Linked DNA regions of Homo sapiens: regions 1, 2, 3 and 5 are each linked to region 4. The links are contacts of gene promoters, found by promoter capture Hi-C in human tissues and cell types (Jung and others, 2019). All regions are on one chromosome and are shown on one strand. The core of a region is centred on a gene start or on the middle of the fragment in contact, and the rest is flanking DNA. Distances in the headings are between cores, read along the strand shown.

What was found. Contacts are between HindIII fragments. The study calls those that stand out against the background at their distance.
Region 1: a fragment that was not itself captured here is called in contact with the fragment with the promoter of HAND2 in region 4 in 3 of the 25 tissues and cell types used here (dorsolateral prefrontal cortex, mesenchymal stem cells and spleen).
Region 2: a contact is called between a fragment that was not itself captured here and the fragment with the promoter of HAND2 in region 4, in 3 of the 25 tissues and cell types used here (dorsolateral prefrontal cortex, lymphoblastoid cells and mesenchymal stem cells).
Region 3: a contact is called between a fragment that was not itself captured here and the fragment with the promoter of HAND2 in region 4, in 1 of the 25 tissues and cell types used here (bladder).
Region 5: a contact is called between a fragment that was not itself captured here and the fragment with the promoter of HAND2 in region 4, in 1 of the 25 tissues and cell types used here (spleen).

Annotation. Positions count from the first base shown.
Region 1 is chr4:174,265,673-174,271,229 of GRCh38, forward strand. All of the region lies in intron 1 of FBXO8 (F-box protein 8), which reads right to left. Among named protein-coding and RNA genes, the nearest start is that of FBXO8, 15 kb to the right of the region's middle. The HindIII fragment of the contact is 4,929 bases long and covers 1-4,514 here.
Region 2 is chr4:174,072,675-174,078,892 of GRCh38, forward strand. LOC107986204 (a long non-coding RNA gene) reads right to left here. Exons shown (of 3, transcript XR_001741466.1): 2 at 3,061-3,199. Among named protein-coding and RNA genes, the nearest start is that of LINC02268, 140 kb to the right of the region's middle. The HindIII fragment of the contact is 4,370 bases long and covers 2,508-6,218 here.
Region 3 is chr4:174,089,173-174,095,445 of GRCh38, forward strand. It overlaps LINC02268 (long intergenic non-protein coding RNA 2268), which reads right to left. Exons shown (of 5, transcript NR_125896.1): 5 at 5,488-6,273. It overlaps LOC107986204 (a long non-coding RNA gene), which reads right to left and starts at 1,067. Exons shown (of 3, transcript XR_001741466.1): 1 at 512-1,067. The HindIII fragment of the contact is 3,001 bases long and covers 3,206-6,206 here.
Region 4 is chr4:173,528,777-173,534,173 of GRCh38, forward strand. HAND2 (heart and neural crest derivatives expressed 2) reads right to left here and starts at 1,453. Exons shown (of 2, transcript NM_021973.3): 1 at 1-1,453. The coding sequence starts at 513. It overlaps HAND2-AS1 (HAND2 antisense RNA 1), which reads left to right and starts at 1,595. Exons shown (of 5, transcript NR_136196.1): 1 at 1,595-1,763; 2 at 2,191-2,302. The HindIII fragment of the contact is 12,639 bases long and covers 1-5,397 here.
Region 5 is chr4:174,047,320-174,053,450 of GRCh38, forward strand. No RefSeq gene overlaps it. Among named protein-coding and RNA genes, the nearest start is that of LINC02269, 150 kb to the left of the region's middle. The HindIII fragment of the contact is 8,130 bases long and covers 1-6,131 here.

The DNA.
Region 1 (5,557 bases), core at 800-3,299, 740 kb after region 4:
TAGAAATGATCAACGTACAAAAAATAGAGAATGTCAACAAAAAATTATAAGTACAAGTTTTATATTTGTTTAAATGTACCATGTCACATTACAACATTAAGTACAACTTAATTTTGACACAAATTGAACATTTTAAGTCTACTAATCATAAAGAAAAGTATTTTATTTTCACCATTGCTATTCCTCTATTTAACTTAGCAAGAAAATATCTAGAAATCACATTAATTGCTGAGCTCACCTAGCACAGCTGTTATTTTAAATAATTAAATTTATTCTCTTTTGTTTTTGTACCACTAAAGGTAAATTATCAAACATGGTAACTGCAGTATCTGAAGTCTCAATATTTAAAACATTTATAACAATTTCAGTCTATTTTCCTACAGAATCTTTCTAGTGGCATATGGTTAAGCAGCTGTTGCTACTCTTAGGCCTGTTGCTAGGGAACAAAGAATCAGGGTGATTTCCCTAGGCTCCGGACTTTAATGGGGATCACTTAAATTGAACACACTGGATAATATGATTCAGAAAGCATCCGGCAGGTAGAAAGAGGTAAAGCCAGCAGCTGGTTCTTTAAAAAATAATAATAATAATAATGGGGAGGTTGGAGGGTTGAGGCTCATGTATACATAGTTCAGACAAAGAAAACTGCAAAATTATACCTTATTTTCTGTATTCCTACTGCTAAACAATACTGAAAATTGTCCCCTTGGGACTTTCGTTTCCCTTTAAAGCAGTTCTTGATCCTGGGTAAAAACACAGTAATGATAAAGCACTCTGAGAAAGAGTAACATCATGAGTTTAGCATTTGGAGAAAGAAAAGGGAGTCTGTAGCGTTCTGCCCCCATTCCCTATCTTCCTTAGCATAATAGGGATGTGAAACATGGGTGTAACTGTCAGAAAAGCTTTAAAACTCTCAAAATGACGTGACATCCATTGTATAAGTTGTAAAGCAAGTCATGGAGGGAGTATAGTGGTATGGGTTTTGAAGTCAGACAGACCTGGGTTTAAATCCTGACTTTATTAGTTCTTACTTACAGGACCCTGGGAAAGTTACTTGACTACTCTGAGCTTTAGTTTCTTCATGTACAATGCAAAAAATAATAATGATAAAAATGTCTATAGCTCAAAAAGCTATTGTGTTAAGTAAGATAATGTACATAAAGTTAATTTCATGGCTAACAGTTAACTAACAGTCAATACGTTAGATATTACTTTGACAAGCATATTTTTATCAAGTGAAAATAAGCACTTTCATAAAGCTTATTTAATGATACTTAAACTGTTCTGATGTCCTGCCTGTTGAATAAGCTTATTTGTTCATGTTGCTACTTGCACAGCTTTGTAGGGCCTCTACACACAATTCACCTCCTTTAGTTATTTCATATTGTGACCATGTTTTTATGTTGTTTCTTCTTGTAAATCCAATTCTTTTATATCAATGACCCAGCAACAACAACAAAAAACTCTAGAAAACAAAAAAAGGCTGTGTTGTCTTTCACAGAAAATTTTAAAACTCAGCATGCCTGAGGATGGTGCCAATAGCAGTTCCATGAAATAGGTCTTTGTGTTATTGTTAATAATCTGTCAAGATGTGGCTAGGTATGGTGACTCATGTCTGTAATCCCAGCACTTTTCGAGAAGCTGAGGCAGGAGGACTGCTTGAGACCAAGAGTTCAAGACCAGACTGGGCAACATAGACCCCGTTTCAACAAAATACAAAAAAAGTTAGCTAGGTGCGATGGTGCATACCTGTAGTCCTATCCACTCAGGAGTCTGAGGCAGGAAGATCACTTGAGCTCAGGAGTTTGAGGTTATAGTGAGCTATGATCACACCACTGCACTCCAGCCTGAGTGACAGAGTGAGACCTTGCCTCTAAAAAAAATTAAAATTAAAAATTAAAAGAAAATAAACTGTCAACACTAGCTCTAAAAGAGATGTAGAATATGATGCAGTTTCATGCGGGGTTCGTCCATGATTTCAAACTCTTGAAAATAGTGTTTAGACTGAACCAATTAAAACTTAATTTCAAAGTATAAAGTTTTCAGATTTGTGTTAAAAGTTTTAATAATATCTTGGTATAAAGATTTTAAAACTGAAACATAATATTATAAAAGATATATTACTGTCCTGTCACTTGCAGCAATTGTTAGGTAAAATAAAATTCAGCTGCAATGTGGAATCACTGAATATGCAAAAAGTTTCAAATTCAAAAAAAATTCAACACAAAATAAGTTTTTGTATTTGAAATCACTAGTTTTGGTGTAAATATGGATTTTGTGATGAAACTACAGCTTTATTTGTTCACTCAAAATAGGTGGAGAAAATAGATATTTATTTCTTTGAAAAAATATTTACTCTTCTAAGAGCATAGTCTATGTTAGTCTATCTCATACAGAAATAAAAGAAACACGGTTGCTTCTTGTTATTCATGGCAATTATGTTCTTTAAAGTTTCTGCAAACACTGAATTAGCAATACTGAACCATTGTTCCTAGGGAATTACAGGGTTAGGTTACTGTAAGCCTCTATTCACAATATTTTCATTAACTGATCAATACATAACCTTACTGTATGTGTGTTTCTGCTGAAAGACATTTAATACATATTGCTAATTCATTAACTGTGAACTCATGGCCAACCGCACTATAACTCAGGCTTGAATGAGGCTTATCTAACATGTATTTTATCCATAAGGCACAACACTTAGGAAAACTAGATAACGCTTCTGCACTAGGCTTGGGGGCCATTTTTTGTTTTGTTTTGTTTTGTTTTGTTTTTGAGATGGAGTCTCGCTGTGTCGCCCAAGCTGGAGTGCAGTGGCGCGATCTCGGCTCACTGCAAGTTCCGCCTCCCTCCCAGTTTCTCGCCATTCTCCTGACTCAGCCTCCAGAGTGCTGGGACTACAGGCGCCTGCTACCACGCCCGGCTAATTTTTTGTATTTTTTAGTAGAGACGGGGTTTCACCGTGTTAGCCAGGATGGTCTCCATCTCCTGACCTCGTGATCCGCCCGCCTTGGCCTCCCAAAGTGCTGGGATTACAGGCGTGAGCCACCGCGCCCGGCCGGGGGCCGTTTTAAACACTAAAATCACCAAGAAAAAGCATGTGGGAAATGTGGCATTAAATAAGCCACAAAAAGGACACTTGTTTATAATGACAGCTAAGATAAGAAGGCAGAGCCTTGCCTTCAACTTCAGCTGCGAATGTGCACCTTGAACAACAGTTTTTTCAGCTCTTGCGCATGTTTGCTAAAGGCGGCAGAAGCACCAGGCGTACTCCTTTGGGAGATACAAATAAATGTTAGTGAGTAGGTAAATTCACAAATACAAAATTATAAATAATGAAGATCAACTGTAATTAATACAATTCAAGGTGTCCCATGCCTTTTCTTCCAAATTTGAATTTATTTTGTTCAAAGCTTCTTTATCATGTTGAGAGGATCTATAGAATTCTTTCTAAGGAGCTTCGAAATGAAACCAAACATGTTTTTTCTTGGTCTACAAACACAGAAACATAACTTCATTATTTATCATCTGACAGAAGTAAACAAAAATTTCATAATTACTTAGGTCACAGAGAGAAATTATGCTACAAAAAAATTCTCCATAAGATTTCAAAGTTGAAACTCTTCCTTTCCAAGGAAATAAAAACAAAAAAAAAAATGGGGGAAAAAACCCCAAAGCAATCGCAACTGTACATTTTCTCCTTATTTTTCAGAATGGTAATAAAATGCGGCCAGGAGTGGTGGCTCATGCCTGTAATCTCAGCACTTTGGGAGGCCGAGGCGGGCAGATCACTTGAGGTCAGGAGTTCCAGACTGGCCTGTCCAACATGGCGAACCTCGTCTCCACTAAAAATACACAAATTAGCCTGGCATTGTGGTGCACGCCCGTAATCCCAGCTACTGGGAAGGCTGAGGCAGGAGAATCACTTGAACCCGGGAGGCAGAGGTTGCACCGAGCCGAGAATGTGGCACTCCAGCCTGGGCAACAGAGTGAGACTCGTCTCAAAAAAAAAAAAAAAGAATGGTAATAAAATGAATACTTACAACTGAAGATTTAGATACTATTTAGTAAACTTAAATTGATAATTTCCAGAGAATGATTAGCACAAAATAGAATAAATCAGAACTCCTTTATAAATTGGATGAAGCATCAAATGAAGCAACAGCCAAATAGGCAAACGAATATGATCCCAGAATTTCTACTCCCTGAAATTATGCAAATATAACTATCAATTAATTATAACCATTTTAATACAGCAGTCAACTAATGCTCCTTGTGTCTCAGAGCTATTATATACTGTTTTGGTTTAAGGATAAAATATTCATGTTCAATTCTGTACTACCTGCAAATACACTCAGGGAGCATGGTAGTAAACAGGAAACTTAGAAGCCTGACATGAATGGCTACTGAATGGCTACTGAATGTGGACTGGCAACCAAACTGTGCGACCTTGAACACTCAGTGGTATTGTGTATAAACATGCCACATTAGCCGAGACAGAGCTATTTTATTAAATTAATCTCATGTATAAGAATTTCATATTTTGGTTTATTATCATAGCTTACATTTCAAACTTAACTTTCTGTTCCTAAAGTCCTATGCTGCTGTGGCACAGTAGCTGGGAAGACGTAAATGGAAAGTAACATGATTTTAGGAAGAGTCCAGCATTATTAAAAAATAATGCCTTTGAGAGGTATTTATCTAGAAGACTGCATAAAGTTTCCTACTTAGCTAAAGGTCCTTTTATAGAGCAAACAGCCACTATCACCCCTATATGATCTGTTGTCCTCCCACCTGCTAACATTTCAGTAAAGTTATATCTAGGATTACTAAACATATATGGTGTTTTTCTTTCTACAAAAGCTCTTTTGGTATTACATAGCTTAAATTTAATATGCTAAACTTCAAGATCATTTTTATTCATGCTCATGTCTTAGGAATAGTATTTTTTTTTTTTTTTGAGATTTAGTCTTGTCTTGTTCCCCAGCTGCAGTGCAATGGCGCGATCTCGGCTCACTGCAACCTCCACCTCCCAGGTTCAAGTGATTCTCCTGTCTCAGCCTCCCGAGTGCTGGGATTACAGGCACCTGCCACCACGCCTGGCTAATTTTTGTATTTTTAGTAGAGACGGAGTTTCACCATGTTGGCCAGGATGGTCTACGAACTCCTCACCTCAGGTGATCCGCCCGCCTCGGCTTCTCAGGAATAGGTTTTAAACTAATATTGGGATAAGTATAAATGGCAGGGTATCATCTCATGACCATGATTTGCAATTTGTAAGATATCAATTGGACAGGAAACAGAAGAAACAATTTTTGGACTCACTTTTGAAACAATCTTTTATGGAACTTTTTTGGAAAAAAATCTCAACCTTGGTTGTATTCTTGTAAGATGGAGCACATATATTTATCACCTCTCTCTCCCATAAAATGACAGAGAAAAAAAAGGTAGAAACTACAACTAAAAGAAAATGAAAACAGGACATTCATGAACATGAGATTTCAACATATTTCTGCAACATGAAAAGTAGAAGGAGGAGTGGCTACTAATGAAG
Region 2 (6,218 bases), core at 3,443-5,942, 550 kb after region 4:
ACAAAAGTAGTTTCATGAACTGTAAGGTTACACATCTATGGATTTAAAAATCAGGCTCAGGCTGGGTGTAGTGGTTCATGCCTACAATCCCAGCATTTTGAGAGGCTGAGGTTAGAAGTTCGAGACCAGCCTGGCCAACATGGTTAAACTCCATCTCTACTGAAAATACAAGAATTAACCAGGTGTGGTGGTGCATGCCTGTAGTCCCAGCTACTCAGGAGACTGAATCAGGAGAATCTCTTGAATCCAGGAGGCAGAGGTAGCAGTGAGCTGATATTGCATCACTGCACTCCAGCCTAGGAGACAGAGCAAGACTCCATCTCAAAAAATAAATAAATAAATAAATAATAATAAAAGTAAAATAAAAATCAGGCTCTACAACTTAATAGCGAAGCAGGATATTTCCCTGCCCCTTTGCAGGTGGGAACTTGAGTACAGGGATGCTGGAACTAGCTGGCTGCTTTGGCACTGGCAGGGGCAAATTCCACTCACTTGGATCCACTGCACTTCACCCTTCATGGGGGGCGGGGAGTGTGCAGGTGAGTGGATGCAGGAGCTGGGGCGAGTGCTTTTGAGCACTGGCAGAAGCAAAACTCTGTGCGGCCCCACAGCAGCATCTGGGGAGGTGCCCATGACCCCTGAAGCCCCAGAAGGAGTGTTACCGTGCCCTTTTAGCTTTACTGTCCATGGACAGCTTAAGTGGTAACAGCTCAGTGGAGGGTCATTGTGACAACATTTTGCACCTGCACTCATGGCACCCAAGTTCTTGTCCAGTATCCAGAAGGAATGAGATCGCATGAACAAATTGAAGATGGTAAACAAGGGGGATTTTATTGCCATTGAAAGTAGCTCTCAGCAGCAAGGGGAGCTGAAAAGGGGATGGAGCCGTAAGGTAATCTTCCCCTGAAGATTCCCCGTGGATGGCCAGACTCCTCTCCAAAGCTACGCTGTCAAGCTGTCCCTCTGAAGTAAAGACTCTTCTGTCTGACGTCCTACCATAGTCTCTGACATCCAGCTACTTCCCCTCCTTCTGCTGGCTGAGCCTGGGGTTTTTATGGGCACAGAATGGGGGTGGGGTAGGCCATGGGTGGTTTTGGAAAGGCAACATTCGAGCAGGAAAACAGGGATGTAAGTTCTCACTTTGGGCTGCATTGACAGGCTTTTCAGCTTAAGGGTGGGGCCCTCACCAGGGACCTGCCCTCTTCTGCCCAGAATTTCCCTGCCTCCTGTCCCTATCAATAGCTATATGACCTTGGGCAAGACATTTAAATCTTCTGTGCCTCAAATTTTTCTTCTTGGCAATGGGAGTATAGCACCTACAGTCAGACTGGTTGAATGATTCAACACAGTAATATATTGGAAAGATCTTGCCATGATTCAATAGACCTTCTTTCTGTTCCCCTTTTCCCAACTCACCAGAAAATTTAAAATATAGTTAACTAACCAATTCTGTTAAAGTCAAATAAAGTCCATACATCAAAATTTGAAAAAATAGATGCTAGAATTCTTTAAGCTACTCTTTTACTCACAATTTTATGTAGGACAGCAAAGCTTAAACTTTGTAATGGAAATGGTCATAAGTTACTACGTAGTTATATGTAGTTATGTAATAGCCAATAATTCCAATAAATTATCTAAATTTCTATCACAAAGGAAATAACTAAAACATATTTTTTACCCTTAGTACTAAAATTTATTCTGAAATAAAGGCACAATGAAAGAAGAGATCATGACAATGGGAGTATTCTAACGCATATTAATTTTTAAATTAAATAGTATTAATGTCTCAGTAGGAATGAATCTATGCTTTTTTGACTGAGAGAACAATTTCATGTATAATCTCTGACAAGATAAATACCCTCCTTGCAGTGGAATCTGTTGTTTTACAATTAATTAAATGTTTTAGCTAGGTTAAATCTCAATCTCTGCCCAAATTCTTAAAGCAATATGAATTTCTACCAAGATATTGAAACACCTAAAACATTTTGTCATCTGGCAATTTCTGTAGTATCTTCTTAATCGTATGTTTAGATTAATAACATTTTCTAATTTTAGTGGAGTCTGATTTGTCAATTTTTTTCCTGAAGGGTTAGCACATTATTTGTCTAACGAACTTTTAGAAGTTATTTTTTTCTCATCTAAGCATTTATTATTTATTTAACAATATTACTTCAGTGCCTTCTGGGTCAAAAATAGGATATAAAAGTTCTCTCTCTGCCTGACTCATTGATGAGAGACATGGATCTTCTGCCCTTGGACTGGGACTTACTTCATTGATGCTCCTGGTTCTCATGCCTTCAGACTCAGACTGGCATTTATTTAATACAACACTGGCTTTCCTGGGTCTCCAGCTTTCAAACAGGAGATCATGGGACTTCTCAGCCTCCTTAACTGTATTAACCAATTCTTATAATAAATTTATAAATATATATGTATAAACATGCATATGTGTGTATACATATATCTCCTATTAGTTCTATTTCTTTGGAGAACTCTGACTAAAGAATGTGAGATAGAGATTAAATGATAACTTTATTTCCCATGTTGATATTCAATTGATGTAGTACAGTTTACTGCAAGTACAATCATTCTTCACTGCCCTGCAGTGTCAATTTTTTATAAATTAATTATCCTTATGTGTGTGGTCTGTTTCTGAACTGTCTATTCTGTGCCTTTGGTATATTTGTGTATGTCTGCCTAAATTCTACACTGTCTCAATCGTATTAACTTTATATTAACTTACAGAAGAGAAATGACTCCTCAAACTTTATTTAGCATTTTAAGATCGTCTTAGACATTCATGGCTCTTTGACTTTCCATAGAAACTTTTGTATTTTTCACAGAGACAGGGTCTCACTTTGTTGCCCAGACAGGTCTCAAACTCCTGGCTTCAAGCGATCCTCCCACCCCTGCCTCCCAAAGTGCTGGGATTACAGGTCTGAGCCACCATACCACAGACTAGAACCTTCTTTCAGTAGAAGGCTGTTTTATCTACAATGAAAATTTGTTCTTTAGTTCAGCCACCTTCATCAATTACCTTAGTTAGATCTTCTGGATTACCTGCTACAACTTCTCCATCAGCACTTGCTGCTTCACCTTGCCCTTTTAGGTTATGGAGACGTCTTCTTTCGTTAAACCTCATAAACCAACTTCTTCTAGCTTCCAACTTTTCTTCTGCAGCCTCCTCACCTTTCTCAGCCTTCACAGAATTGAAGAGAGTTAGGGCTTTGCTCTGGTATAGGATTTGGCTTAAGAGAATATTGTGACTGGATTGATCTTCTATCCAGACCACTCAATTTCCTCCATATCAGCAATAAGGCTGTTTTGCTTTCATATCATTTGTGTGTTCACGGGAGTAGCACTTTTAATTTCCTTCAAGAACTTTTCCTTTACATTTATGATTGGCTGACTGTTTGGCCTAGCTTTCAGCCTATTTCAAGTTTGGACATGTCTTCCTCACAAGCTTAATTATTTGTAGCTTTTAATTTAAAGTGAAAGACATGTGACTCTTCCTTTCACATGAACACGCAAAAGTCATTGTAGGGTTATTAAATGGCCTAATTTCAATATCTTTGTGTCTCAGGGAAGAGAGGCCTGAGGAGAGGGAGAGAGATAGGGGAACAGCCTGTCAGTGGAGCATTCAGAGCACACACACTTATGGATTAAGTTCGCTGTATTATAGGGGTGTGGTTTGTGGTACTCCAAAACAGTTATAATAAAAACATCAAAGATCACTGACCACAGATCACCATAACAGATATAATACTACTAACAATAAAGTTTGAAATATTGCAAGAATTACCAAAATGTGACACAGAAACACAAAGGGAGCACAAGCCAGTGGAAAAATGGCACCAATAGACTTGCTCAACACAGCGTTGCCACAAACCTTCAATTTGTAAAAAACACAATATCTGCAAAGTGCAATAAATCAAAGCATCACAAAATAAAGTATGCTTGTACTTATATATCATATCTTCATTATTATTCAGTTTTAAATATCTTCTAATTGCAATTATGTTTTGCTGCCCCATATATTTCTGCAAAATTACGTTGGGGATTATATTGAAGATTTTCCAGTTAATCTTTTTAAATTTAGTATTTTTATGATGAATTTTAGCAAATGTTTAAAATACATTTGAAAAGCATAGGCATTCTTTGGTTACTGTGTACAGTGGTCTGTATCTATTGATTATATCAAGTAACTTAATTGTGTTTATAACCCTATAATTTTTTCTTGCCTGTTCTATCAGTTATTGAGGGATGTTTGCTAAAATCTTCAAATATATTGTGGATATTCTGCTGTCCTTTTAGTTACATCAATTTTTGCTTTATGAATTTTCAGGCTATGTATTAAGTACATGCAAATTCAGAATTCATAAGTCATTCTACTGAATGGAAAATTTTATCATTCCAAAATGTCCTTCTTCAGTTCTAGTAATGTCTCTTGCCCACAATCAACTTTGTCATTCATTTAAATATATCAGATTTCCTTTGGTTAGTTTGTACTGTGTGTGACTTTCCATCCTTTTTTTTCCTTTTTTAAGGCATGTATCTATTAAGTATTACATAGTTGAATTTCTTAAGGAGTCTGACAATTATTGCCTTTTAATTAGAGTCTTTATTATATTGATATTTAATATAATTCCTGCTGTATTGGGATTTAAATCAATGCCTTGCTTTTTATTTATTTTTCTGCATCCAACGTGTCTGACATTCCATTTTCCTCCTCTCTTACTTTCTCTATGGTTAATTAAATATTTTGTCTCATCTTATTTATCATTCTGTTTCTTCCTGGTAACATTAATATTTTTAGTCATTAGTCAGAGATTACAGCATGAATCCTTGACTTATTAAAATCTAATATAAATTAGCATTTACCACTTTCCAGATATTGCTAGAAGCTGAAAATAATATAACTGCAATTACCTAGCTTACTTGTTGTACAATTATTCTTATGTATTTTAAATTGACATATATTTCAAACCCCCTGTTAAAAGACAAACTTCAGCTGAATTAAATTTAAAGGAGTTTAATTGAGCAATGAATGATTTGTGAATCAGGCAGGCCCCCAGAATCACAGTAGATTCTCAGAGACTCAAGGGATGCCTCATGGTCAGAATAAATTTATAGACAAAAATAAAAATGATGTACGGAAATTAGAGGTGAGGTACAGAAACAGCTGGATTGGTTGCAGGTTGGTGTTTACCTTATTTGAACACAGTTTGAACACTCAGCAGCTTATGGTTGAAATATGGCTGATAAGACTGACCAAGACTCAGCCACTGTTACAGGCACATACTCCAAAGTTAGGGTTTCAATCTTGTCTACCTACTAAGTTAGGTTGCAGTTTGTCCACAAGAACTCAAATATAAAAGTACAGAGTCCTTCTCAGGCCATATTTAGTTTGCTTTAACACTCCTAAAGCAATTTATACAATTAATTTTCATTTCTATATACTCAAATATTTACCCTTTATTTTGCTTGTTTTTCTTAATGCAGCTACATGGTTCCATCTGGATCATTTCACTTCTGCTTAAAGAAATCCTCCTGAATATTTGCTGCTTTGGTAGATAATCAACACCTTCAGACAATTACTTTAAATTTTTGTTTAGATTTTCTAGTTATTATTGGTAGGACTTTTGGTCTGAAATAAGCTTGTCTGATATTGCTGGAAGCAAAAGTCTCACAAAATATCTCCCTCTCAAACCTTTCTCCCAGATTCATATATTCAAATACCTGCTGGACATCTCCACGTAGATGTCTAACAGCTCAAACCATATTGAAACCCTGGTCCTTCCCTCCCCCTCCACAACAAAAATCTCACTCCACCCATATCACTTCCATCTTACTTGACGAAAATGCCAACCTTTTAGTTGTTTGACCCCAAATTTTGGAGTCATCTTTTATTCCTGTCAGAAACTGTTGGCTCTATCTTCAAGACTTGTCCAGAAATCAACCATTTCCCTCCATCTGTACTGTTACAACTCTGATCCGAATCACTATAATATCTTTTCTGGATTGCTACAATAATTCCCTGATAGGTCTCCCTGAGTCTATATTTGATCCCCACAGAATGCTCAACAGTGCAGCTAGAATGACACTTTTACTGGTTAAATCACATTATGCCACTTATCAGCTTATACCACCCAATGCCTGCCCATCAGACTAGCCAAAGATCTTACTATAACTTGCAAGGTCCTCCTGGATCATCGCCT
Region 3 (6,273 bases), core at 3,456-5,955, 560 kb after region 4:
GCGCTTCTTCAAATTCACTGTTCTCATTTATTTCAGTAGTTTTGAATTTTACTACTATGGGTGTGGTTCTAAAATCTTCATCACTTTTCTTGAGTCTCTGAAAGCTCTGTTTGGCTGTGGTTGTGCTTAGCCAACCAGGCTATGACCGGTCTGTCCAACATGGTGAAACCCGTCTCTACTAAAAATACAAAAATTAGCCAGGCGTGGTGTTGCATGCCTGTAGTCCCAGCTACTCAGGATGCTGAGGCAGGAGAATTGCTTGAACCCAGCGAGCCACTGCACTCCAGCCTGGGTGACAGAGCGAGACTCTGTCCTCTCTGGCAAACCTGCCCTTCCACTTGTAATTGCATCTTAGTTGATGGTGCACCATCCACTCAGAATTTAGGATTATCTTTCATCTTTTCATTCACCACTCATTCAGGTGAAAAAAGTCTCATGAATTCCACTTTGAAGAAATCTTTTTTTCCTGTACTTATCGTATGGCCTATTTTGTGTCCCCATTGTTACTCACCAAAGTAATAATGCAGCAGCCTCCTAACTGCTTGCATAGCCTCTTGTCTCTGTCCTCACTAATCAGTCCCACATTGTATCACCAGAAGCATCCTTTTAAACACAGAACCAGTTCTTAAACTCTCCTCCTCAAAAACCTTCAGTGGCTTCCCAATGTAAACAGATGTCCAGTATCAGTAAACCCCTGGACTTAGTTCTGGCTTATCTTAGCGCAGATTAACTTCTACTTCAATACTCCAAGAGGCATGTGCAGCCATTCCCTAATCGCGCCCTCCCCTTGCCTCTCCTATGTTTGTGCTATCCCTTCTTTGTGGGCTTTTTCTCCTTCTCTCATCTTAATCCCTCACAATCCACCTCGAATTTCCTCCCATGAAACTCCTGATGGCCCTACTAAAAATTTATCCTTTTCTTCATTTACTTAACAACTATTTATTGAATATTTACTAAGCTTTAGAATCTCAAAAATAAAAGACAGGCTCCCTTCCCAAGAACAGTCTATAACATTCTAATGGGGAAGACAAGTAAATAAGCAATTAAAATTACATATGGTTTTCATGAAACACACAAACTACCAATGCTCTCTCAAGAAAAATAAAATTAGTATTTTATTAATATATTATATTATTTAGTTTTAAAAATTTTGTTTTGCTATAATTTTGTTTAAAAAAAAAAGATTGTTGGCTGGGCGCAGTGACTCACGCCTGTAATCCCAACACTTTGGGAGGCCAAGGCGGGTGGATCACCTGAGGTCAGGAGTTCAAGACCAGCCTGGCCAACATGGTGAAACCCCGACTCTACTAAAAATAGAAAAATTAACTAGGCATGGTGGCACATGCCTGTAATCCCAGCTACTCTGGAGGCTGAGGCAGGAGAATCACTTGAACCCAGGAGGTGGAGGTTGCAGTGAGCTGAGATTGTGCCATTGCACTCCAGCCTGGGTGACAAAAGTGAAACTCCGTTTCAAAAAAAAGAAAGAAAGAAAGAAAAAAGAAAAAAGAAAGATTTATTCACTAGTGAGCTCTTCTCAACATTTAAGGAACAAGTGATACCAATTTTATACAAACTCTTCTAAAAATTGAAGAGTTCACTAGTACACTGATATTAAAACCAGGCAAAGACCTTATGGAAAAGAAAACTGGGCCAGATGTTTTGGCACATGCCTGGGCTGCTTGAGGCCAGAAGTTTGAAACCTGCCTAGGCAACATAGCAAAACCCTGTCTTTACAAAAAATAAATAAATAAAAAATAAAGTAATTAAAAGTTAGCTGGGCATGGTGGTATATGCCTATAGTCCTAGCTACATAAGAGACTGAGGCGGGAGGATTACTTGAGCAGTCTTTAATTGCTTCAGTTTGAGGCAGCAGTGAGCTATGATCATGCTACTGCACTCCAGCCTGGGCGATAGAGCAAGAAGACTCTGTTTCAGAAAACAAAACAAAAGAAAAAAGAAAACTAAAGATCACTATCTCTCATTAGTATAGATGCAAAATCCTACACAGTATTTTAGCAAATTAATTCAAGCAATATATTTAAAAGGATAATGCTTCATAATGAAGTAGATTTCATCCCAGAAATATGAGATTTGTTTCAATATTTAAAAATCCATAAATGTAACAGTTTCTCAAATTTTGCTTGTTTCGATGACCTAGGCAGTTTTGAGAATTACCAGTTGGGTATTTTTTAGAATGTTCTTTAATTGGAATACATATGAAAATTTTTAAATAATTAGTCTGGAATTATGGGAATAGGAAGAAGAACACAGAGGTAAAGTGCCTTTTTTTAATCACATCATTTCAAGTGGACATGACATAAACGTCACTATCACTGTTGATGTTGACCTGGGTCACTTGGCCAAGGTAGCAATTGTCAGGTTTCTTTACTGTACAGTTATTCTTTTTCCCTCTTTTCATATTGTACTCTTTTGAAAGAAATGAGTATGTTCATGTCCGACTTAAAGAGCATAGAGTTATGCTCTTCCTCATTGAGGAAGTAGTATCTACATAAATTCTTTCAAATTTTTCTGCACAAAAATTTGACTCTTCTTCCTCATTTAATTATTTTTTTATTTTACTTATGCTTTAAGTTCTGGGATACATGTGTAGAACGTGCAGGTTTGTTACATAGCTATACATGTGCCATGGTGGTTTGCTGCACCCATCAACCCATAATCTACATTAGGTATTTCTCCTAATGCTATCCCTTCCCTAGCCCCCGACCCTCTGACAGGCCCTGGTGTGTGATGTTCCCTCCCGGTATTCATGTGTTCTCATTGTTCAACTCCCACTTATGAGTGAGAACATGTGGTGTTTGGCATTCTGTTCCTGTATTAGTTTGCAGAGAATGATGGTTTCCAGCTTCATCCATATCCCTGCAAAGGACATGAACTCATCCTTTTTTATGGCTACATAGTATTTCACGGTGTATATGTGCCACATTTTCTTTATCCAGCCGATCATTGATGGGCATTTGCATTGGTTCCAAGTCTTTGCTATTGTGAACAGTGCTGCAATCAACATACAGGTGGATGTGTCTCTATAGTAGAATGATTTATAATCCTTTGGGTATATAGCCAGTAATGGGATTGCTCGGTCAAATGGCATTTCTGGTTCTAGATCCTTGAGGAATCTCCACACAGTCTTCCACAATTGCTGAACTAATTTACACTCCTACCAACAGTGTAAAAGCATTCCTATCTCTCCACATCCTCTCCAGCATCTGTTGTTTCCTGACTTTTTAAAGATCGCCATTCTAACTGGCGTGAGATGGTATCTCATTGTGGTTTTGATTTGCATTTCTCTAATGCCCAGTGATGATGAGCTTTTTTTCATGTTTGTTGGCCACATAAATGTCTTCTTTTGAGAAGTGTCTTTTCATATCCTTCACCCACTTCTTGATGGGGTTGTTTGTTTTTTTTCTTGTAAATTTGTTTAAGTTATTTGTAGATTCTGGATATTAGCCCTTTGTCAGGTGGATAGATTGCAAAAATTTTCTCCCATTCTGTAGGTTGCCTGTTCACTCTGATGATAGTTTCTTTTGCTGTTCAGAAGCTCTTTAGTTTAATTAGCTCCCATTTGTCAATTTTGGCTTTTGTTGCTTTAGTCATTTGCCCATGTCTGTGTCCTCAATGGTATTGCCTAGGTATTCTTCTAGGGTTTCTATGGTTTTAGGTCTTACGTTTAAGTCTTTAATCCATCTTGAGTTAATTTTTGTATAAGGTGTAAGGAAGGAGCCCAGCTTCAGTTTTCTGCATGTGGCTAGCCAGTTTTCCCAAGATCATTTATTAAATACAGAATTTCTTCCCCATTATTTGTTTTTGTCAGATTTGTTGAAGATCAGATGGTTGTAGATGGGTGACGTTTTTCTGAGGCCTCTGTTCTATTCCATTGGTCTATATATCTGTTTTGGCACCAGTACCATGCTGTTTTGGTTACTGTAGCCTTGTAGTATAGTTTGAAGTCAGTTAGCATGATGCCTCCATCTTTGTTCTTTTTGCTTAAGATTTTCTTGGCTATATGGGCTCTTTTTTGGTTCCATATGAAATTTAAAGTAGTTTTTTCTAATTCTGTGAAGAAAGAGCTATGATGACTAAATGTAATGCCTTAGGATGGGTGGGATTCTGAAACAGAAAAAGATGTTGGATAGAAACCAAGAAAATCCAAATAAAATATGGAGTTTAGTTAATAATAATTTGTCAGCATTGTTTCCTTAATTGTAACAAATATACCATACCAATGTAAGATGCTAAAAGGGAAACCAGGTGTGGGGTACACAAGAATTATCTATAATATGTTTACAATTTTTCCGTAAATCTAAAGCTGTTCTAGAGTTTTAAGTTTATTTGTTTTTTAAATGCCTCAGTTTGGAGGCACCATATACCGATCCTTGAAAGGATGTGGTCAGGTCTCTCAGAAAGAGTGAAGAGGCCAGGCGCAGTGGCTCACGCCTGTAATCCCAGCACTTTGGGAGGGCAAGGCAGGTGGATCAGGAGGTCAGGAGATTGAGACAATGCTGGCTAACATGTTGAAACCCTGTCTGTACTAAAAATACAAAAAATTAGACGGGTGTGGTGGTGGGCGCCTGTAGTTCCAGCTACTGGGGAGGCTGAGGCGGGAGAATGGTGTGAACCCAGGAGGCAGAGCTTGCAGTGAGCTGAGATCAGGCCACTGCACTCCAGCCTGGATGACAAAGCGAGACTCCGTTTCAAAAAAAAAAAAAAGAGAGAAGAAAGTGACTGGATAATTGACCTGGTATTTACATTATTGGGAAGCACTGACCCTATCTAATGTTGGATTTCTGGGCTTCTGGTGTGCTCTTTTCCTTTTTCTCTCCTGTTCTCAATCAATATTGTAGCCCACTCTCCCCAGAAAAGAGCTTTTGGTGACTTGGAAATGAATGAGTTTCATTCCCCCTGCCTGAATTATAGATTTAACTGTAAAAGAGATACCATCTAATTTTATTACCGATACCACTAAAGCATAACCCTAGTTTGGGGAGAGATCTGATCTTTATGCGGTTTGCGGAGTAGAATGTAACCACCAATTTGTTTCTGGTATTGCTAAATGAACTAGACTTATACTTTTGTTGTTGTTATACTACTTATAATTGCTCTTTTGTTACTTTAAAAATTCAAATAGTTGTAATTTCATCTGGTTTGACCAAATAATAATGTCAAGAATAAAAGGGAATAAACATTTATTTGAGCATTGAAAAAGAATCCATAAGTGTAATTCATCATATCAATAAATTAAATTTGACTACAAAAGAAAAGCCATATGATCATCTCAATAGATGTAGAGAAACCATTTGACAAAATTCAATGTCATTAGTGCATGGTAGAAACTCCCAGGAAAGTATAAATAAAAGGGAACTTTCTCAACTTGGTAAAGGGCATCTACAGAAACTGTACAGTTAATCTTATTACTAATGGTATGTGATAGTGAAAGCTTTCTCCCTAGATATTAGAATCAAGAAAAGATGTCTGTTTCCAATACTTTTATTCAACATTATTCTGGGGATCTTAGTCAGTACAATAAGCTTTGAGAAAAAAGAAATAAAATACAAACAAATTGGAAAAAAAGAAATAAAAGAGTACTTGATTATAGATGACATGACAGTCTTGGTAGAAAATCCTAAAGGATCAAAAAAACCGTGGCCAGGCATGGTGGCTCACGCCTGTAATTCCAACACTTTGGGAGGCCGAGGCAGGCAGATCACTTGAGGTCAGGAGTTCGAGACCAGCCTGACCAACATCGTGATTCCCCTGTCTCTACTAAAAATACAAAAATTAGCCGGGCATGGTGTTGCGTGCCTGCAGTCCCAGCTACTCTGAAGGCTGTGGCAGGAGAATAGCCTGAACCCAGGAGGCAGAGGTTGCAGTGAATGAAGATTGTGCCACTGCACTCCAGCCTAAGCAAAACAGTGAGACTCTGTCAAAAACAAAAATGTCTAGAAATAATAAGCGACCATAGCAAAGTCACAGGATATAAAGTCAGCATCCAAAATATATTGTAGCTGGGCGCAGTGGCTCATGCCTGTAATCCCAAGACTTTGGGAGGCAATGATGGGAGGATCACTTGAGGCAAGGAGTTTAAAACCAGCCTGGTCAACATAGCAAGACCCCGTTTCTACAAAAGAAAAAATTTTTTAAAATGTTAGCTAGGTTTGGTGGCATATACCTGTAGTCCCAGCTGCTGGGAAGGCTGAGGAAAGAGATTAGCTTGAGTCCCGGAGTTCGAGGCTGCAGTGAGTCATGATTACGCCACCA
Region 4 (5,397 bases), core at 203-2,702:
GATCTCTGCCTTGAAGGCCTCCGCCTCGCCATTCTGGTCGTCCTTGGCCAGCAGGTCCATGAGGTAGGCGATGTAGCTGGTGGCCAGGCGCAGGGTCTTGATTTTGGAGAGTTTGGTGTCGGCGGGTACGTTGGGGATGCACTCGCGCAGTTCGGCGAAGGCGCTGTTGATGCTCTGAGTCCTGCGCCGCTCCTTGCGGTTGGCGGTGCCTCGGCGCTTCACCGGGCGCGGCCCCCCCAGGCCCGGGGGCCCGGCGCCCGGCGGCACCCCCCCGTAATGGGAGTGGTCCAGGCCGGCGGCGCCGCTGGCATACTCGGGGCTGTAGGACAGGGCCATGCTGTAGTCGGGGGGCGACATCTCGGGGTGGCCGATGAGCCAGCCATGGAAGTAGGGGTTCTCCTCATGGCTGCAGCGGCTGGCGGCGGCGGCGGCAGCTGCGGCGGCGGCGGCGGCAAACGGGTAGCCCTCGTGGTGCACCACCGGGTGGTGGGGAAAACCACCTACCAGACTCATTTCGCCCTCCGCGCCCCTCCACGCGCCCCAGCGTGCGCGCAGCCCCGCCGCGCCCTCGGCCCGGGCCCCTGCCTCAGCGCTCGGCGTCCTCCCCCACCCCCCACCCCCCAGCCCCCGGGCGCCCGGGCCCGCCCGGCAGCCGCAGAGGGGGCTGCTGCAGCCCGGGCCCCGTCCCCCCGCCTGGCCAGCCGGGCCCGCCTCAGCAGCGCTGCGGCCGCCGGCTCCCCATGGGGCGCGGCGAGCTGGTCCTGGCACCGTGCGCCCCTGGCCGCCGCCGCCGCCGCCTCCGGTTCCCGCCTTGCTCCACGGCCCGCGCTTCGGCTCCTGCTTCCCGGGCTGCTGCGCGGAGGCAGAATCCTCTCGTGCTCATACAAAGGTGCCGGGGCTCCCGCGAGGCTGGTACGCGGAGTCTCGGGAATCCAAGCCCGGGCCGCGGTCCTGGCACCGAAGCTAACCCGGAATCCAGGGGCGAGTCTGAGCCGCGGCTGGAGGAGCCGGTCCAGCTGTGCCGGGGGGCGGCGGGGTCGACTGCTCACTGCAAAGCTACCTCCGTGCGACCCTCCCCTTCCCGCCTCTTCCCCTCCCCCCACCAGCCCGATCTGGGTTCTTGGGCGCTTATTGTTTTAATGAAATTTTTGGTTGTTGTTGTTTTGGTCCTTAAATGTGATTTTAGCTGCGAGTAACGTGTCCTCGCTCCTCTCGCGCTCTCTCGGAGGGTTTTCAGAGAGGTCTCAGTGCATCCATTTTCTCAGATCCTCTCCTTTCGGGGCAAGGATCTGGGGCCCTGAATGAGCCTTGGAGCTCGAAGACCGCGGCTCGGGCTCTCGGAGGGCTCTGCGCGGTGGCCGAGGAAGCTCCGGGGTGACGGCGGTGGTTCTCCTGGGCTGGACGACGTGAGGGGAGCAAGCGGATTTTCCCAGCAAGATCTCCATGTACAGCTACATCTTTAGGGCCGCTCGGGTTAATATATGTCGTCAGAGGCTCCTCACGCCAATCCCGGGGCGGCAGGGGCGGCGCCTCGAGCTCTCGGCAATAAAACTTTTTGATGTTCACGTTGCTAATTGCCGAGGTCCTCTTCCAGGATTGGCTACCTCCTCATAACCATAAGATAATTAAAACTTGGCGGGGGGGGGGGGCAGGGTTAAAAAAACTTTTTTTATCAGTCAGAGGATAATGCAAGTGTTTAACAGATGCTTCACTATTAAAATATTTTCCCCCCAAGTCTCAAATATTGAAGAATCTCTAACCAGGTACAGTATCACTCTGCTCTCTTTTCTGGTTGAAAAGAAAGAAAGAAAGAAAACGCAGGTATTGCTTTTCGAAGTGCTTTGTAGGTAATCGAGGTAAGAAAATATACGCAGGCAGCCTCTTACAATTTTATGCAGGGGCGCCGGGAGCCTCGTGACGGGCGGTGGGGGCCCCCACAAAGGCGCGGCTGGGAGCTGGCGCTCTTTGCCCCAGCAGGGACGAGGAGCGGCTGGAGAAGGGTGTTTCTTTGACCCGTTTACAGGCTCGAAACGCCGGTCTCAGTGGCTATTGAGTTACCCACCAAGTTACCCCGGTTAGAGCTGTTTGGGGTGGCTCACGTTATTGCGGCAAACTTTGGAGATGACGGCTGAGTCCTCCGGGCGAACATGTCAAGCCGATTGTAAATGCTGTTATTTCCACATCCTTCAGGGACACCAGTCCCTACGAAGACCTTGGGCGATTTTGAAGTGCGGGCACCTCGATTCCCCGAATCTGTAGTGTGGCTGGTATCGGTGTTCCCCTGGTTTAACTAGCCTGTTTGGTAAGTAACTGAATATTTTTTACGGCGTGTTCAGAGCTTATTTTCCAGTTTTTATGAACAAACATATAAATATATCTCTGCATTCCTGCCTCCCTCATAAAAGCGGGCATCTGTGGAAAGCAGGTTTAGTTATCGGAGGGGAACCATTAAACGCCAGTTTAAGAGGCAGGCCGGGAGGACGGCTCGTGGATGTTGAGACTGCTGGCCTTGGTGATCTTGAACGCATTATAACGGAAAATGGATCTCCACTTGTAAGTCACCGGGCCGCGGGGCACCCGGGCCGCAGCGCCCGTGTGGCATGAGCTTCTTGAGAAGGCTCACGTGCGGCGAGGGCGGGTGGTAAATGGCAGGAGCTGAAATCACCCCAGGCTTGGCCCCAAGCCGAGAGGGGAGGCTGATGTGTATATGCAGATTCCACCCGAAGGAGTTCGGTGTGGAAAACGGTGTCAACAGGAGCCCGCGGGCTGTAAATTAGAGGGAGGCGAGGGCCTGCGGCGCCAGCGCGGGACAGGGCGGCCTGGGGCTCGCCGCTGGTCAGGCCAGGTTAGCCCAAGGGAGACCAAAGACTCCACCTTGAGCATCGCCCTTTGGAGGCGGGCAGAGTCCGGCCGCAGGCCACAAAGCGATCCCCACCCGAAGGACTCCACAAGGACAGTCCTTTCCTTGCTCACCGCCGACAAAGTGGTTGGGGCAGGAAGGCGAGGTCAGTGCGAATGGAGGGCGCCCAACTTCGGTGTTGCAGTTGACTCTGTGCTCGGGCTCTGCCCTCCACTAGCCCTAGAGTCTTGGGCAGCAGGATTGAGAAATATATATATTTCAGGTTTGCCGCGGCTGGGCGGTAGGAGACAGGGACTTAAAAGCCCAGGATTAGAGTCGGTGCAGGGCCCATTCTTTTTCTAGGAAAGGGGTTAACATCCTTGAACGTCCCCAGACAAGCGTCTTAAAGCATTGAACCTAGAATAGGGATTAACTGAAACTAGGCTCGTTGGTAAGCGCCAGGGGCTTGCAGTTGAGCTCGGAACAAAATAGTGACCTACTGCTCTAAACCCCCAACTTGCGTGGGTCTGCAATTTTTTAGCACAAGGAGAGCCTTTTAAAGACCTGGTTCTTCAAGGAAAGAATGCAGGTAGTGTGGTTGGGGGTTCTGTTTACATTTTCACCCGGAGGCAAACCCCGAATGTGTAAATACTGGTAGTTCAATTCTCTGACATTTGATACGTTTTTGAAAAGTCTGTTTATAAAAACACATTTAGGCCTTGGGAGCAGGTAGACAAAGTAAGATTGCACTGGGGCTGGGAACATATAAAAATTCAGGGAAATTAGTTGGTTGGCTGCTTTAAGACCCAAAGGGAGTTTTGGGAATTGAAGGGAGGAAGAAGAGTCCAGAGGAGGGCTGAGTTAGGGATTGAGATGCTCTGTCCACCAGAGACCAGCGGTGAGTGGCCTCACTTTTGAAAGCTTCAGAACTTGCCACATTTAGCTTTTCTCATGCTTTTAATTGAAACAAACAAACAAACAAAAATGAATGAATTACCTCGTGGCTCCAGATAGCATTGCAAGTGGTAAAGGAAATGGACAACATGGTACAGAAAAAAGAAATCATAAAAGATGCTAATCTGAACATCAGTTCTCACTCACAGTGTCATTATCAGTTAACTGCTGTGGTCCAAGGGCCTAAGACTTGATGTGGCTCAGAAACCCAAATCCAGAGGTCACTGCCTTAGAAAGCTGGCTTGATGAGAGGGGACAAATGGATGAACCCTAGTGGTGTCCCCAACTGTAGTAACTGACTCAGGGAGGCCAGGCTGGCCCTGACTGGTTGAGCTCTACCCTAAATGCACAAACGCATCCACTTTTCTCTTGCAGTGTCCTTTGGCCTGTTTTGTTCCAGGTTTTCCAGGATACTGGGTTAGCCTGCTCCTTTGGGAAGTTGTGAAGCAAGGATGCCATCTCAAGTTTGCCCTCAATTTAGGTGTCCTGGGCATCCTGGTGGTAGTGATGGAGGTGTTGGCAGTGGTGGCAATGAAGGAGAGGGTGGTGTTGGTGATGAGAGGGAAAGTGGGAGAAGAAAGGGAGAAAGGCACAGTCCCTGACATCGATGTCAGCATGGGGACCCCACTCCTGGGCTGCACTAGTGTAGCTGCTGATGCACATGTTGTAAGTACTCAAAGGCCCAGGGAACTGGCTTGCTGGGGGCTCCTCTGGGTGCCTGTGGAGGAATCTTAGCTAGGAGTGCTTCTCTGCCTCTCCTCAGAGGCTGAGGGCTGAGCCAAAACCGGCCTTACTCGTGTCCAGAAACTGCTTCACAAGGAGGCAGCCCAGGTTTGGGTGAGTGTTTGGGATTCTGTACCTTTGTTGTAGCTGATGGTGTACCTACTGTACTGCACATGTCAACTGCCTTCAGCCAAATAGACAGAATCTGGTTCAAGCATTTATTTTGCTCCTCATGTCTCTTGTCTCTTTGCCGTCACTGCTACTTCTTTCTCTGGAAAAAGACGGAAAGAGCAGCAGAGAGGCTGAACATGGCCATGCAAACATTTTGGTCTTGTGAGATATTATTATACTTGAAAAAATCAATCTGGTTTAAACTAATTTTAAAAAAATCTTTAGTTAGGTTTTAGGGAAAATACAGATTGTCTCAGGGTGTTTATTATTTCAAAGGCAAGGGCAGTTTATATCCTCTGTTTTGCTCATAAGAACCCAAAATAAACTGGACCCAAAAAGAATCAGGCCAGAGGGTCATAAATGCACATTTTATGTTCATGGGAATTATGGCTCAATTCTCATCATCGTCTTTCAAATCTTGTTTCACCTTGTTTTTCTAACCAACATAGTGGAAGTGACTCTGACCGTTCCCTTAAGAATCTTTAATGCTCTTACATGAGATGAGCCTCAGAACAAGCTAAGAACCATCGAAAGAACATCAAGCCTGGAAGGTGACAGAAGGAGCAATGTGTTCTTGAAGATGTCACCTCAGCCCACCTGCTCCAAGGACAGTGCTTCTTGCGACACTCTGATAGCTCTGCATTCTTTTCTGTACCAGGGTAGGGTGGAGTCATTTTACATGCTATCCACTTAGTCCCAGGATGTTTAGG
Region 5 (6,131 bases), core at 2,558-5,057, 520 kb after region 4:
CCAAACACAGAAAAAATAACTGAGTATAACACTGTCAAGCAAACATAAGTCAGGTATTATCAGATAAATTTTGATTCCCAAAATTCATATGCGGAAGACCTAAGCCACAGTACCTCAGAATGTGACTGTATTTGCAGATAAAGCCTTTGAAGAGCCGATTAAGTTAAAATAAGGTCGTGTGGGTGGGGCCCTAATTAAGTTAAAATGAGATCATGGGAGCGGGGTCCTAATGCAGTGTGACTGGTGCCCTTATAAAAAGAGAAAACTTGGACAAGCAAGAGAGATATCAGAAATGCACACACACAGAGGAAAGATCATGTGAGGACACAGGGAGAAGGTGGCCATCTGCAAACCACAGAGATATGCCTCAGAGGAAATCAAACCAGCTAACATCTTACTTTTGGGCTTCTACCCTCCATAACTGTGAGAAAATAAATTTGGGTTGTTTAAGCTCCACAGCCTGTGTTATTTTGTTATGGTAACACTAGCAAACTAATACAGCAGGAAAGGAGGGGAGAGAAGCAGCAAATGATTGATAAACAGATACAAGTTGATATATTAAATGATATAATGAAGTCAATATAATAAATTCATAATGATGTTGATATAATGAAGTTTATGTAAATTGATGCAATGAAGTCCAAATATATAAGCAATTCAAGTAAATTAATCTGGCATACCGTAAGAGATTAGCAGATGGATTTTTTTAAATCCACTGCATGATGTTTACAAAACACACACACTTGAATACATGTACATACACACACAATTGCAACTAAAACAAAACTGCAGAGAAAATTTGCAAATATAGTGATGAAAAATATATTATGCAGATATTAGATGAGTTTGATACAGCAATGTTAATATCAGACAAAATAAGCTTAAAATGAAAAAATTATTACTATGAATAGTGGCATTCCATTATTTTAAAAAGAAAAATAAATCACAATGTTATCATCCAAAATAGATTTCTACTTAAAGAAAAATTGTCAGAATTGCAAGGAGAAATTGACAAGTTCATAGTCACAGTGAGAGTTTTTATTATACCCACAAATTGACAAAATAAGACATAAATGATTTAAACAACAAAAATAACAAAAGCACCTTGAAGCCAATAAGTGGAAAAGGTATATTTATTTCAGCAATTTGAAACATTTTCAAAAGTGGGTAACATGACTTTTTTAAAAATAGATTTTAGTTTTTCAGAGCAATTCTAGGTTCAAAGCAAAATTGGATGAAAAGTACAGAGGTGTCCCATGTACAGTAGTGGATGCCTGAAAGCCTGGATATACCTAACCCTACAGGTAATATGTTTTATCTGTATGTACATACCTATGATAAAGTTTAACTTATGAATTAGGCACAGTAAGAGGTTAACAATAACTAGTAATAAAAGAACAATTATAACAATATAGTGTAATAAAAATTATATGAATGTGTGCTCTCTCTCTCCCTCAATGTATAATATTTTTGGACCGCATTTGATTACAAGTTTCTTTTTCTTGTTTTATTGACTAGGATTATTAACTAGGACTTCTAATATGATGTTGAAAAGCAGTGGTGAGACGTTCTTGCCTTGTTTCTGATCTTAGTGAAAAATCTTCAAGTTTCTCACTATTAAATATGATGTTAGTTGTAGGTATTTTGTAGATATTTTGTATTAAGTTGAGAAAGATCCCCCCCGTTCTTTGTTTACTGAGAGTTTTTATCATTAATAGGTGCTGGATTTTGCCAAATGATTTTGCTGCATCTACTAATATGGTCAAGTGATTTTCTTCTTTATCCTATTGATGTGGTAGATTATATTAATTGATTTTTGAATATTAAATCAGCCTTGCATACTTGGGATAAATCCCACTTAGTTGTGATATATAATTCTTTTTATACATTGTTGGATTCAATTTGCTAATATTTTATTAAGGATTTTTGCATTATGTTCATGAGAGAAATTGGTCTGTAGTTTTCTAATAATATTTTTGCCTACTTTGTGTATTAGTATAATGCTGGCCTATAGATTAAGTTAGGAAATATTTCCTCTACTTCTATCTCTTGAAAGAAATTATATAGAATTAGTACAATTCCTCCTAAAATCGTTAGTAGAATTCACCAGTGAGCCCATCTGGCCTGGTGCTTTCTGTTTTGGAAAATTATTCAGTATTAATTATTAATTAAGTTCAATTTATTTAACAGATATAGGCCCACTCGGATTGTCTATTTCTCCTAGGGTGAGTTTTGGCAGGTTGTGTGTTTCAACAAATTAGTCTATATTATTTATGTTATAAAATTTGTAGGCATAGAGTTATCCATAATATTACTGTATTATTTTGTTAATCACTATAGAACCTGTAATGATACCCTATCTTTCATTTCAGCTATGAATGATTTGTATTCTTTTTTCTCGGTTAGGCTGGCTAGAGGCCTATCAATTTTATTGATCTTTTAAAAAAACAACTTTTGGTTTCATTGATTTTTCTCTATTGATTTCCTATTTTCAATTTCATTTATTTCTTTGCTATTGTGAATACTGCTGCAATAAACATATGAGTGGGTGTGTCTTTATAGTAGAATGATTTATAATTTTGGGGGTATATATCCAGTAATGGGATTGCCTGGTCAAATGGTATTCCTGGTTGTAGATCCTTGAGGAATCGCCACACAGTCTTCCATAATGGTTGAACTAGTTTACACTCCCACCAACAGTCTAAAAGCATTCTTATTTCTCCACATCCTCTCCAGCATCTGTTGTTTCCTGACTTTTTAATGATCACCATTCCAACTGGTGTGAGATGGTATCTCATTGTGGTTTTGATTTGCATTTCTCTAATGACCAGAGATGATGAGTTTTTTTTCATATGTTTGTTGGCTGCATATATGTCTTCTTTTGAGAAGTGTCTCTTCATATCCTTTACCTACTTTTGGATGGGGTTTTTGTTTTTTTTCTTGTAAATTTGTTTAAGTTCTTTGTAGATTCTAGATATTAGCCCTTTGTCAGATGGATAGATTGCAAACATTTTCTCCTATTCTGTAGATTGCCTGTTCACTCTGATTATAGGATAGTTTCTTTCGCTGTGCAGAAGCCGTTTTTAGTTTAATTAGATCCCATTTGTCAATTTTGGCTTTTGTTGCCATTGCTTTTGGTGTTTTAGTCATAGTCATTGCCAATGCCTATGTCCTGAATTGTATTGCCTAGGAGTTCTTCTAGGGTTTTTATGGTTTTAGGTCTTACGTTTAAGTCTGTAATGCATCTTGAGTTAATTTTTGTATAAGGCGTAAGGAAGGGGTCCAGTTCTCTGTATTTCCTGAATTTGAATGTTGGCCTGCCTTGCTAGGTTGGGGAAGTTCTCCTGGATAATATCTTGAAGTGTGTTTTCCAACTTGATTCCATTCTCCCCATCTCTTTCAGGTACTCCAATCCGTCATAGTTTCGTTCTTTTTACATAGTCCCATGTTTCTCAGAGGTTTTTTGTCCATTCCTTTTCATTCTTTTCTCTCTAATTTTGTCCAATTGTCTTATTTCAGCAAGATAGTCTTCCATTTTTTATATTCTTTCTTCCCCTTGATCGATTTGGCTATTCATACTTGTGTATGCTTCACAAAGTTCTTGTGCTGTGTTTTCAGCTCCATCAGGTCATTTATGTTCCTCTCTAAATGGGTTATTCTAGTTAGCCACTCCTCTAAACTTTATCAAGTTTCTTAGCCTCTTTGCATTGTGTTAGAACATACTCCTTTACCTCAATGAGGTTTGTTATTATCCACCTTCTGAAGCCTACTTCTGTCGATTCATCCATCTCATCCTCCATCCAGTTTTGTGCCCTTGCTGAAAAGTTGTTGCTATCATTTGGAGGAGAAAAGGCACTCTGGCCTTTTGGGTTTTCAGCATTTTTCCATTGATTCTTTCTCACCTTCATGAGTTCATCTATGAAATCATGTGCAAAATCACAAGAATTCCTATACACCAATAGACAAGCAGAAAGCCAAATTGTGAATGATCTCCAATTCACAGTTGCTACAAAGAGAATAAAATAAATAGGAATACAGCTAACAAGGGGCATGAAGGACCTCTTCAAGGAGAACTACAAACCACTGCTCAAGGAAATAAGAGAGGACACAAACAAATGGAAAAACACTCCATGCTCATGGATAGGAAGAATCAATATTGTGTGAATGGCCATACTGCTCAAAGTGATTTATAGATTCAATGCTATCCCCATCAAGCTTCCATTGACTTTCTTCACAAAATTAGAAAAAACTACTTTAAATTTCACATGGAACCAAAAAAGAGCCCATATAGCCAAGACAATCCTAAGAAAAAAGAACAAAGCTGGAGGCATCATGCTACCTGACTTCAAACTGTACTACAAGGCTACAGTAAACAAAAGAGCATGGTACTAGTACCAAAACAGATATATAGACCAATGGAACAGAACAGAGGCCTCAGAAATAATGCCACCCATCTACAACCATCTGATCTTTGACAAACTGGACAAAAACAGGAAATGGGGAAAGGATTCCCTACGTAATAAGTGATGTTGGGAAAACTGGCTAGCCATATGCAGAAAATTGAAACTGGACCCCTTTTTATAAAACTAATATAACATTGATCCTCAAATCACATTCATTACTGACTTTTTAAAGTTCTGAGTCAAAACTACAGGAACAGTTTTCTAACCAGACAAAACAAACTTATCTAAAAACTGTAGTAAAATTCATTTCAGAAATGATGGTGTGAGAGTATGACACATAATTTCCCAAGAACAAAAAATTTACCGGCTAAAAATTATTTTAAAACAAATATTTAAAGTTTCTGTAAATTTGCCAAGGAGAAATCTTCTTCAAATAGCAAATGAAGAAACATATATTCAAAAAGATTTAATAAATCTTAATATGATCAGTGAGAATCTGTGGCATTTGAGCCATGACCCACTCATAACTCCTTCCTCCAGCTCAGTGTGTTAACAGTTTTACTCTTGGCATGTGCAGCCAAGAAGGTAGGGGTCTCTCTCCACCTTGCTTCCCACACAGAGATATGGTTTCATGCTGGGAGGGACAGACCACTAGCATTTTTCATCCCTATCTTCTGTTCCATATTTCAGAAGCAATATTCCAGACAGACATGGCTGAAAGAATCTATCTCCCTTCCTCCTCTCAACCCCCACTAACAGAGAAGCTCTACCAGAAGGAGCGTAGGCTGAGAATACAAGGCCTTAAATGCTTCCATCAAAACTCACTTGTAAATGAGAGAAAATATTCACAAATATCCACAAGCTATGCATAGACAAAGGTCCAATTTATCCAGCATCTATAAGGAAATTAAACAATTCAACAAGCGAAAAACAACCCCATTAAAACGTGAGCAAAGGACATGAACAGACACTTCTCAAAAGAAGATATAAATTCAGCCAATAAGCATATGAAAAAAATGCTCTGCATCACTAATCAATAGTGAAATGCAAATCAAAACCATAGTGAGACACCATCTCACACCAGTCACAATGGCTATTATTAAAGAGTGAAAAAATAACAGATACTGACAAGGCTATGGAGAAAAAGGAACACTTACATGTGGATGGTGGGAACGTAAATTAGTTTAGCCATTGTGGAAAGTAGTTTGAAGATTTTTCGAAGAACGTAAAACAGAACTACCATTTGACCCAGGAATCCTATTGCTGGGTATATACCCAAGGGAAAATAAATTGTTCTGCCATAAATACACAGGCACTCACATGTTAATTGCAGCACTATTCACAATAGCAAAGGTATGGAAACAACAAATGTGCCCATCAGTGATGGATTAGATTTTGTTAAAAAAGTGCTACATATACACCATGCAACACTGTGCAGCCATAAAAAAGAACTAGATTATGTCCTTTGCGGGGTCATGGATGGAGCTGGAGGCAACTATTCTAAGCAAATTAATGCAGAAACAGAAAACCAGTACTGTATGTTCTTAGGTATAAGTGGGAGCTAAACATTGGGTACTCAGGGACATAAAGATGGGAACAAACACTGGAGCTAGAGAGGGTCGAGAGAGAGAGGCAAAGGCTGAAAAACTACCTATTGGGTACTATGTTGACTACCTGGGTGACGGGATCATTTGTACCTCAAACCTCAGTGACACACAATATACTCAT